Regions from separate parts of the Homo sapiens genome. Here all the other regions are linked to region 1. The links are contacts of gene promoters, found by promoter capture Hi-C in blood cells and fetal thymus (Javierre and others, 2016). All regions are on one chromosome and are shown on one strand. The core of a region is centred on a gene start or on the middle of the fragment in contact, and the rest is flanking DNA. Distances in the headings are between cores, read along the strand shown.

The links. Contacts are between HindIII fragments. The CHiCAGO score rates a contact against its expected background, and 5 or more counts as called.
Region 2: the fragment with the promoter of SPART here is called in contact with the fragment with the promoter of ZAR1L in region 1 in 1 of 17 cell types (naive CD4 T cells); the score reaches 6.3 in naive CD4 T cells.
Region 3: the fragment with the promoter of RFXAP here is called in contact with the fragment with the promoter of ZAR1L in region 1 in 1 of 17 cell types (total CD8 T cells); the score reaches 6.3 in total CD8 T cells.

The regions. Positions count from the first base shown.
Region 1 is chr13:32,313,559-32,316,612 of GRCh38, forward strand. ZAR1L (zygote arrest 1 like) reads right to left here and starts at 1,805. Exons shown (of 6, transcript NM_001136571.2): 1 at 1,757-1,805; 2 at 772-992. BRCA2 (BRCA2 DNA repair associated) reads left to right here and starts at 1,950. Exons shown (of 27, transcript NM_000059.4): 1 at 1,950-2,109; 2 at 2,864-2,969. The coding sequence starts at 2,903. RefSeq lists a silencer at 1,001-1,221, a cis regulatory region at 1,340-1,406, a promoter at 1,735-2,231 and an enhancer at 2,340-2,609. The HindIII fragment of the contact is 7,545 bases long and covers 1,529-3,054 here.
Region 2 is chr13:36,344,782-36,347,873 of GRCh38, forward strand. SPART (spartin) reads right to left here and starts at 1,613. Exons shown (of 9, transcript NM_015087.5): 1 at 1,444-1,613. SPART-AS1 (SPART antisense RNA 1) reads left to right here and starts at 1,650. Exons shown (of 5, transcript NR_045181.1): 1 at 1,650-1,726. RefSeq lists a silencer at 1,462-1,511. The HindIII fragment of the contact is 1,461 bases long and covers 1,200-2,660 here.
Region 3 is chr13:36,817,568-36,820,515 of GRCh38, forward strand. RFXAP (regulatory factor X associated protein) reads left to right here and starts at 1,655. Exons shown (of 3, transcript NM_000538.4): 1 at 1,655-2,390. The coding sequence starts at 1,791. It overlaps LOC124903158 (a long non-coding RNA gene), which reads right to left and starts at 1,504. Exons shown (of 2, transcript XR_007063760.1): 1 at 600-1,504. RefSeq lists a silencer at 1,573-1,942 and enhancers at 2,173-2,222, 2,233-2,462. The HindIII fragment of the contact is 8,641 bases long and covers 1-2,948 here.

The DNA of each region.
Region 1 (3,054 bases), core at 555-3,054:
GTTTTGCCATGTTGGCCAGGCTGGTCTCGAACTCCTGACCTCAGGTGATCTGCCCACCTTGGCCTCCCAAAGTGCTGTGATTACAGGCGTGAGCCACCATGCCCAGCTGGAAATAATGTTTTTAAGAAAAATTAAAGCATATTGTAAATTGAATACAAATAGTAAATTGAGCAGCTGCACTAGAAGAGAATAGGTGAGAAAGTCTATTATGGTGGAGCTAATAAGTTGCAAGTCCCTGGTACAAAGAGAACAAGAAACATAAAGGTATGGGGGGCTGTATAAAATGACAGAAAATGTTATTTCTGAGACTTGTGTGACATGCCACGGGTTCTCATTAGTCCACTCCTAGTGAGACACCCCTCCCCCACAAAAAGGGGACAAAGCATATTGTTCTGATTTATAGGGTAAATAAATCACAGGTTAGTTAAGTGTATGAAGTCAAATGGACTAGAATTCAAACCTGGGCCTTACTACCAGGCACATTACTTAACTACTTGATTCAGTATCCTCATCTGACAATACTGACCAATTTACAGGATTACTGTAAGATTAAACATGGTATTGCTTGAAAACCCAAAGCAGAATGCCTAACTCATAAAATGTTTGGTAAGTGGCAGCTGTTATTAGTAAGGATCACAGACGTATTTCTTTGCGAATTAGACTTAGAGCAAAAGCTTTAGAATCTATCTGCATTAGTAAGGCCTCCTTCTACAACTAAGGATTACTGATTATCAAACTAAAATGGTCCCTAAGGAACCAAGCGGAGCCCACCCTTTTCCTAATCCAAGGTTGCTTCTGTTTACTGCTCAAGCACCTTCTGGAAGCAGCAAGGCCCCCATGGGAGCAACTCTCACTGAATCCATTTGAAGGTTTTGTAGGTCTTACAACAAACCCTATTCAGCCTTGTATTAGGCATGTTACAGAACCAACGAATTCGGAGATGAAGTCAGGTCTTCCAGTTCAGCCTGCGAGGAAGACAGGTGATCCGAATCCTAAGAATGCAAAAGATGGGCCGGGTGTGGTGGCTCATGCCTGTAATCCCAGCGCTTTGGGAGGCCGAGGCAGGCAGATCACCTGAGGTCGGGAGGTTGAGACCAGACTGACCAACAACGGAGAAACCCCGTCTCTACTTAAAAATGCAAAGTTAGCCGTGCGTGGTGGCCCATGCCTGTATTCCCAGCTACTCGGGAGGCTGAGGCAGGAGAACCACTTGATCCCTGGAGGCGGAAGTTGCGGTGAGCGGAGATTGCGCCATTGCACACCAGCCCGGGCCACAAGAGCGAAACTCCGTCTCAAAAAAAAAAGCAAAAGATACTACCAAGCCCTGCGGAGCAAGGTACCTCACACTTCATGAGCGAGTTAAGATGGGTTTCACAATTTTTCAAGCAAGGAAACGGGCTCGGAGGTCTTGAACACCTGCTACCCAATAGCAGAACAGCTACTGGAACTAAAATCCTCTGATTTCAAATAACAGCCCCGCCCACTACCACTAAGTGAAGTCATCCACAACCACACACCGACCACTCTAAGCTTTTGTAAGATCGGCTCGCTTTGGGGAACAGGTCTTGAGAGAACATCCCTTTTAAGGTCAGAACAAAGGTATTTCATAGGTCCCAGGTCGTGTCCCGAGGGCGCCCACCCAAACATGAGCTGGAGCAAAAAGAAAGGGATGGGGGACTTGGAGTAGGCATAGGGGCGGCCCCTCCAAGCAGGGTGGCCTGGGACTCTTAAGGGTCAGCGAGAAGAGAACACACACTCCAGCTCCCGCTTTATTCGGTCAGATACTGACGGTTGGGATGCCTGACAAGGAATTTCCTTTCGCCACACTGAGAAATACCCGCAGCGGCCCACCCAGGCCTGACTTCCGGGTGGTGCGTGTGCTGCGTGTCGCGTCACGGCGTCACGTGGCCAGCGCGGGCTTGTGGCGCGAGCTTCTGAAACTAGGCGGCAGAGGCGGAGCCGCTGTGGCACTGCTGCGCCTCTGCTGCGCCTCGGGTGTCTTTTGCGGCGGTGGGTCGCCGCCGGGAGAAGCGTGAGGGGACAGATTTGTGACCGGCGCGGTTTTTGTCAGCTTACTCCGGCCAAAAAAGAACTGCACCTCTGGAGCGGGTTAGTGGTGGTGGTAGTGGGTTGGGACGAGCGCGTCTTCCGCAGTCCCAGTCCAGCGTGGCGGGGGAGCGCCTCACGCCCCGGGTCGCTGCCGCGGCTTCTTGCCCTTTTGTCTCTGCCAACCCCCACCCATGCCTGAGAGAAAGGTCCTTGCCCGAAGGCAGATTTTCGCCAAGCAAATTCGAGCCCCGCCCCTTCCCTGGGTCTCCATTTCCCGCCTCCGGCCCGGCCTTTGGGCTCCGCCTTCAGCTCAAGACTTAACTTCCCTCCCAGCTGTCCCAGATGACGCCATCTGAAATTTCTTGGAAACACGATCACTTTAACGGAATATTGCTGTTTTGGGGAAGTGTTTTACAGCTGCTGGGCACGCTGTATTTGCCTTACTTAAGCCCCTGGTAATTGCTGTATTCCGAAGACATGCTGATGGGAATTACCAGGCGGCGTTGGTCTCTAACTGGAGCCCTCTGTCCCCACTAGCCACGCGTCACTGGTTAGCGTGATTGAAACTAAATCGTATGAAAATCCTCTTCTCTAGTCGCACTAGCCACGTTTCGAGTGCTTAATGTGGCTAGTGGCACCGGTTTGGACAGCACAGCTGTAAAATGTTCCCATCCTCACAGTAAGCTGTTACCGTTCCAGGAGATGGGACTGAATTAGAATTCAAACAAATTTTCCAGCGCTTCTGAGTTTTACCTCAGTCACATAATAAGGAATGCATCCCTGTGTAAGTGCATTTTGGTCTTCTGTTTTGCAGACTTATTTACCAAGCATTGGAGGAATATCGTAGGTAAAAATGCCTATTGGATCCAAAGAGAGGCCAACATTTTTTGAAATTTTTAAGACACGCTGCAACAAAGCAGGTATTGACAAATTTTATATAACTTTATAAATTACACCGAGAAAGTGTTTTCTAAAAAATGCTTGCTAAAAACCCAGTACGTCACA
Region 2 (3,092 bases), core at 363-2,862, 4.0 Mb after region 1:
TAAGAAGACAAAGTCTTTGAAATGACAATCTGATGTATTAAACAGTACCTACACCAGTGTACAGTCTTCAACAACAAACCAAAATCTGTTCCGATACCAGTAGTTCACCTAAATTCTAATTTTTTAACGTTCTAATAAAACACATTTATTTCAACATAACTACATGTATGTCTGTGTATGTCTTAAAAAATACCCGAGAAAAGGTAAAATTCTGCATTAAAATACCTAGCAATTTAGTTCGATTCCATAAACACTGAAAGAAGTAACACTCTCACTTAACAGTCAACATTACAAGCAGTCTTTAATAATACCGCATTTAACTCCTTAGAGCTAGCACAAGTTGATCTAATGCCTATTTGGCCCTTTACCAAAAAAGCGGAGGGGGCTTTGTCTAACACCTGTATACACCTCCCTCCGTAGCATCCCGCTCATTCTAGCTTCTTAGGGAAACCATAGACAACGACGTTTCAGAGAGTGCCAGAGGTGAAGCCGACCCGAAACCACATTACAGAAAGGCTTCCTGTTTCAAACAGGTCCAATAAAGCCACCAAATTAAGTCTACGATTATAAAGAACTGCGAATCAGAAAATAATTCCATATAGGTGCAGTCTTCTATTACTTTTTTCCCCACTTTCGGAAATTTCAAAGAAAAATTGCTACATTCTTAAATATGAGGCCATTATTTCAAAGGCTGTAACAACCTGGAACGCAAATTCGTTAAATTATGATACAATAAGGCCAACCTCGAGGATCCTCGGTGGACTACTAGCGCACTTCCTTACAATTAGAAAGTGAAAAACTGGGTCAGCCCTAGAGTCACGCAATAATGCTGCGTCACGAAACTGCGCATTCCAAGAGAAACTTTTCTCAGGCCCAGAATTAAGTCGGAGGGATCCGCCGCGCAGCTCAATCCCTAGGAAGCATGAAAGAATGTATTGTAAAGAGTAAAATCACGCGCAATCCATCCCAATATAACCGCAGTTGTTCGTGGGCCTTCTTGCAGAGAAAGGCTGCCCAACCTTGACGGGGCCATGGGCGCTGCGGGAGGGCAAAAGACCACAGAGATCTGCGAAGCCAAAGTAAACAACGGGGTTGGGGCGGCGAGAATGATCAATAGCGATGCTCCGAAAGGACTCCGCGATAGGAATCGAGCGGGAAGGATTCCCTCCATCCTAACAGTCCATGGGTTAAGAGGCCGAAGCTTCCCTAAATACCACACTCCCGCGAGAGAAGGGACTGAGAACAACTTCTCAAACTATTCTCTCTCGAAATCGCTCCCTTCCTCGAAAATTCCATCTCTGAGACTCGGATGAGGTCCCCACCCCCTCCACCCTTGTCCCGTGACCGTCGCCCGCTCAGCCTCCCAGCCGAGTCCGCGGGGCCTGGGGCGCCCACCCCGCCCACCCAAGGGACCGCGCAGGGGTGAACTCCCCCGCGCCCCACCTGCGCCTTCCAGACCTCGGGCGCCCCGGCGTTGCCTCGAGAGCTCCCTGCGCGGCCGCCGCGGCACGGACCAGCTCCCACTCCCTTACACTGGGCGCCGCTGCGCTCGCCGGGGGCCGGTCCCGAGGTTCCCAAGGCCTCGCGCGCGCGCTTGCCGTGGCAACCAAGACGTTCCACGACGCGCGCTCTCGAACGCTTCGCGTCACGCGGCCGCGCGGCCCCGCCCGTCGGCCTCGCTCCCGCCACAGAGCCCGCAGCACGCCGCCGCCGCAGCCTAGGTCACGTGAGTACCCACGCGCGCGTCTTGCCAGCGGATTCATCACCGGCCTGCTCAGACTAGGTTCTGCCCACTCTGACCTTCTAAATGGTACGTGGGAGGACGTCCGTCCCCTTCGGACCCAAGAGTCACCGTAACACTCTAGAAGGGGAGAAAAGGAGCGAGGGCGGCAGGCGACAGAGAACCTCGCGAGTCAGCGGCCCCGCGCAGACCCCCCCAGGCACGGTCCCCTGCGGCCACGTCGGCTGCTCGGCGCCTGCGCAATCTCTTTCTCTCCAGCGAAACCGAGGCCTCCGGAGAGCCTAGTAGAGAGTGTGGGCAGTGAGCGCTTGTAGCCGCTAGAGGGAGCGCTGGGCACAGTGCACGAGAGACAATAAAGGCTGATTATCCCCTCAATGTCTCTGCAGCCTGAGCTTTGTGACTTCTGTATCCAGAGCACAGTTAATTTCCAAAAGCCCGCCTGCACCACGTGTTTTAAGTCTTGGTGTGTGTGTAAAGTCTATATCACTATCATAAAACTGTTAGTTCCTGATTCCGGGATACAAAGAGTAAAATCAAGATGAACATACTTTACCCTTCTTGACAAGTGTTTTTAAATTAGTAAAATATTGTAGATGACAGACTCTTCAATAGGGCTGCCTTAGGGAAAAAAAAACAGAAAAAAGAAAAAGCAGTATGTACTTGCCCGGAGCATTTAGAACCAGTTTTGTTGTTGTTGTGTTTTTGTTTTGTTTTGAGACAGAGTCTTACTATGTTGCCCAGGCTGGAGTGCAGTGGCATGATCTCGGCTCACTGCAACCTCTGCTTCCCAGGTTCAAGCGACTCTCATGCCTCAGCCTCCAGAGAAGCTGGAATTACAGCTGTGCACCACCACTCCCGTCTAATTTTTGTATTTTTAGTAGAGACGGGGTTTCACCATATTGGCCAAGCTGGTCTTGAAAGCTTGACCTCAAGTTAGCCAGGCTGGTCTCGAATTCCTGACCTCAAGCGATCCACCTGCCTCAGTTTCCCAAAGTGCTGGGATTACAGGCGTGAGTCACCGCGCCTGGCCTTAGGACCAGTTAAGTGACTCCCTCAAATCTCAGAAAGGTAGCAGTCAGTCATCCCAAAAAGCAAAACCTATTAGGAATATATTAATACAGTGGTTTCAAAATGATTTTGCTCTTATACCCCCAAAGGAGTCCCCAAAGACTATGACTGTATTCTCACTTCCACGTTTTTGGATTGACCATCACAATTTCTCATCTGACTTAAATAGTTACAAAAGAAGCAACTTCTGTTTTATTATAAATTAACATTTTAAAATAAAAGTTATATAACTTTTAAATGTAGCCAGTGGAATCTAAATACCAATTTAATATCTAAAATCATC
Region 3 (2,948 bases), core at 405-2,904, 4.5 Mb after region 1:
TCATGCCTCAGCCTCCTGAGTAGCTGGGATTATAGGTGTGGACCACCACACCTGGCTGATTTTTGTATTTTTAGTAGAGACGGGGTTTCATCATGTTGGTCAGGCTGGTCTCGAACTCGTGACCTCGTGATCCACCTGCCTGAGCCTCCCAAAGCGCTGGGATTACAGGTGGGAGCCACTGAGCCTGGCCTTAAATTTAATCTTCATTAACATTTTCACTGTCACTTTCTTAAGTGCAGAGACAATCAGCAATAAGTGTAAACCTGCTTCGTAGCATTTGATCATTTCCCTGGTGTAAATACTCCAAAAGTGGCTGATTTCAAGCAATCAACATGACATACTGAAGGCAGAGTTGGGAAAATGTGCAGTAACACACCACTAAATAATATTTCCGCATACAGATACAATAGACATAAATAACCTTAAAAGCACAGATAATGATAAAACATAATAAAATAATTAGAAAATGAAGAGTTTTGAGATTTGTACCCTTTGTTTTTAATATAATCTTATTGTAAGTTTATGTAGTAAGACTTTTAATAATAGCAGTGTTTAATTTTTCTGCTAATTATATTCCTGAAATTTTAGCAACCAGTTACCATCAGTTGGCGCTAGCACACCACCGACTGCAGGCTTTACTGATGAGGAAACTGAGGCTCGGAGAGGCTGTCACGAACTTGCTGTAGTCACACAGGAAGTACTACCTAGGTTGCTCTAATTCCAAACCTTCTCCCTTCCATATGCCTCTCTTTAAAACATAACTGATCTACCTATATGTCAGCACCCAAACATCTTAGTGTGAATGGATTTATAGTTTGTTGAATAAAGTCATTGCTTTCCGGTAGGTGGGATGGGAAATCTGACTAGGCGAAAGAATAGGATGAAGGGAAAAAGAACATCTACTTAACAGTTCAGGATACGGCAGGATATTTTCTCTCCTGGGATTTGGGCAAGCCAAGATTTAACAACCAGCAATTGCCCAGCAACTGATAGAACTGGTAGAACATTCATTGTTTTTTTAAACGTTTGCCATTCAGTATTCCTTTTCACACATTTTCACTGTGTTAAACGAAAACGTTAAGACTTATCTCAGCAGCCACAGCAAAGAGCAAGTACTAACAATCAAGTGAGTTTCCAGGAGAAAAAAAACAAAGTTATCCCTCAATGCAAATACAACTCGGCCAAAGGTGTGGCCCATCCCTCTCCGCTCCACTATTTTCAAATAAGCCACCTCTGCCTTCATGGACTGCGAGCTAGTGACTCTAGGCTGTGACACCACTGCATCCCAGCTTCAAATCTCCCCTTGCAGGCAGTTTGTGGGGGAAATAATAAAATTAGCATCCTAACACTACAAGTCGTGAGACCGCTCAGGAACAATCCTAATTTGCATACTGGAACTCCTGTAGAAGATACTTTGAACCGCTTTAGATACAATAGGATCAGGTAAAACGGCGCTGCCTTGCCAGCCACTGCAGGTTTTCACCTGACACAGCCCCCAGACCCTGTCTACGAATCCCCCAGCTGGCCGAAGGGGCCGCGGCCGCACATGCGCAGTCAGTCCCGTTGGTTGTGCGCTCAGCCCCGCCCCCAGAGGCGCCGCGCTCCCTGACAGCCCGCGGGCGTACACACGCTGACGCGCAGGCTGCGGTCGCGCAGGCGCAGTCGGGGCGCCTTCCCGGTATAGGCGCCTTTTACCCCAGCGTGTCCTGAGTCTTTGGTTCGCGAAGTGCCGTTAGGCCAAGCAGGTGCTAAAAGCCCGGGGTCGTGGACCCCGGCCAGGTCTTAGCAGCATGGAGGCGCAGGGTGTAGCGGAGGGCGCGGGGCCGGGCGCCGCCAGCGGCGTGCCCCACCCCGCGGCCCTAGCCCCGGCTGCGGCTCCCACCTTGGCGCCAGCCTCGGTGGCGGCCGCGGCCTCTCAATTCACCCTGCTAGTGATGCAACCCTGTGCTGGGCAGGACGAGGCTGCGGCCCCCGGGGGCAGCGTTGGGGCGGGCAAGCCCGTTAGGTACCTGTGCGAAGGGGCCGGGGATGGCGAAGAGGAGGCTGGGGAGGACGAGGCGGACCTGTTAGACACTTCGGACCCTCCGGGGGGAGGCGAGAGCGCGGCTAGTTTGGAGGATCTAGAGGACGAGGAGACTCACTCGGGGGGCGAGGGCAGCAGCGGGGGCGCCCGGAGGCGGGGCAGCGGTGGGGGCAGCATGAGCAAGACCTGCACCTACGAAGGCTGCAGCGAGACCACGAGCCAGGTGGCCAAGCAGCGCAAACCGTGGATGTGCAAGAAACACCGCAACAAGATGTACAAGGACAAGTATAAAAAGAAGAAGAGCGACCAGGCCCTGAACTGCGGTGGGACTGCCTCGACTGGCAGCGCGGGAAACGTCAAACTCGAGGTATCAGACTTAGCTGAGGCCTGGGGATGGGAGGTGGAAGAAGAAACCCGATCTTAACGCAAACCGCATCTGCAGGGCCTGCCTCCCCACTTCCAAATGGGCCGGTTTGCAGTGACTGGGTTAGTGGTTGAGAATTAGAGTGTTTGCCCTAAATTAAAGTTTATACCAACATGTGCAAAGCAATAACAGTTCTGTTGAACTCATGATAGGTGCAGAAATTTCAGTAAAAATAATGTGACATCGGCAGAGCTGTCATAGATCTGGGATATGGCTGGAAGGACATAGAGTAAATGATCGGTCTGGTTCATCGCTAAAGGAGACTTAGGAACCTAGATGAAGTTGGTACTTCTGAGAAAGTCATCTCTTTCTGTTTTCACTACTCTATTCTCAGTATCCAGTTCTCAGTACCCAGTTCTCAGTACCTCTATTTGTAATACTCCTGTATTTAGTACTTTGTTTTTAGTGTCCTGTTCTGTTAACCCTCTTCCTAGTACCGTATTTTTAGTACTGCTATACTCAGTTGCCTGTCTGTAGTACCCCTGTACGTAGTACTCTTTT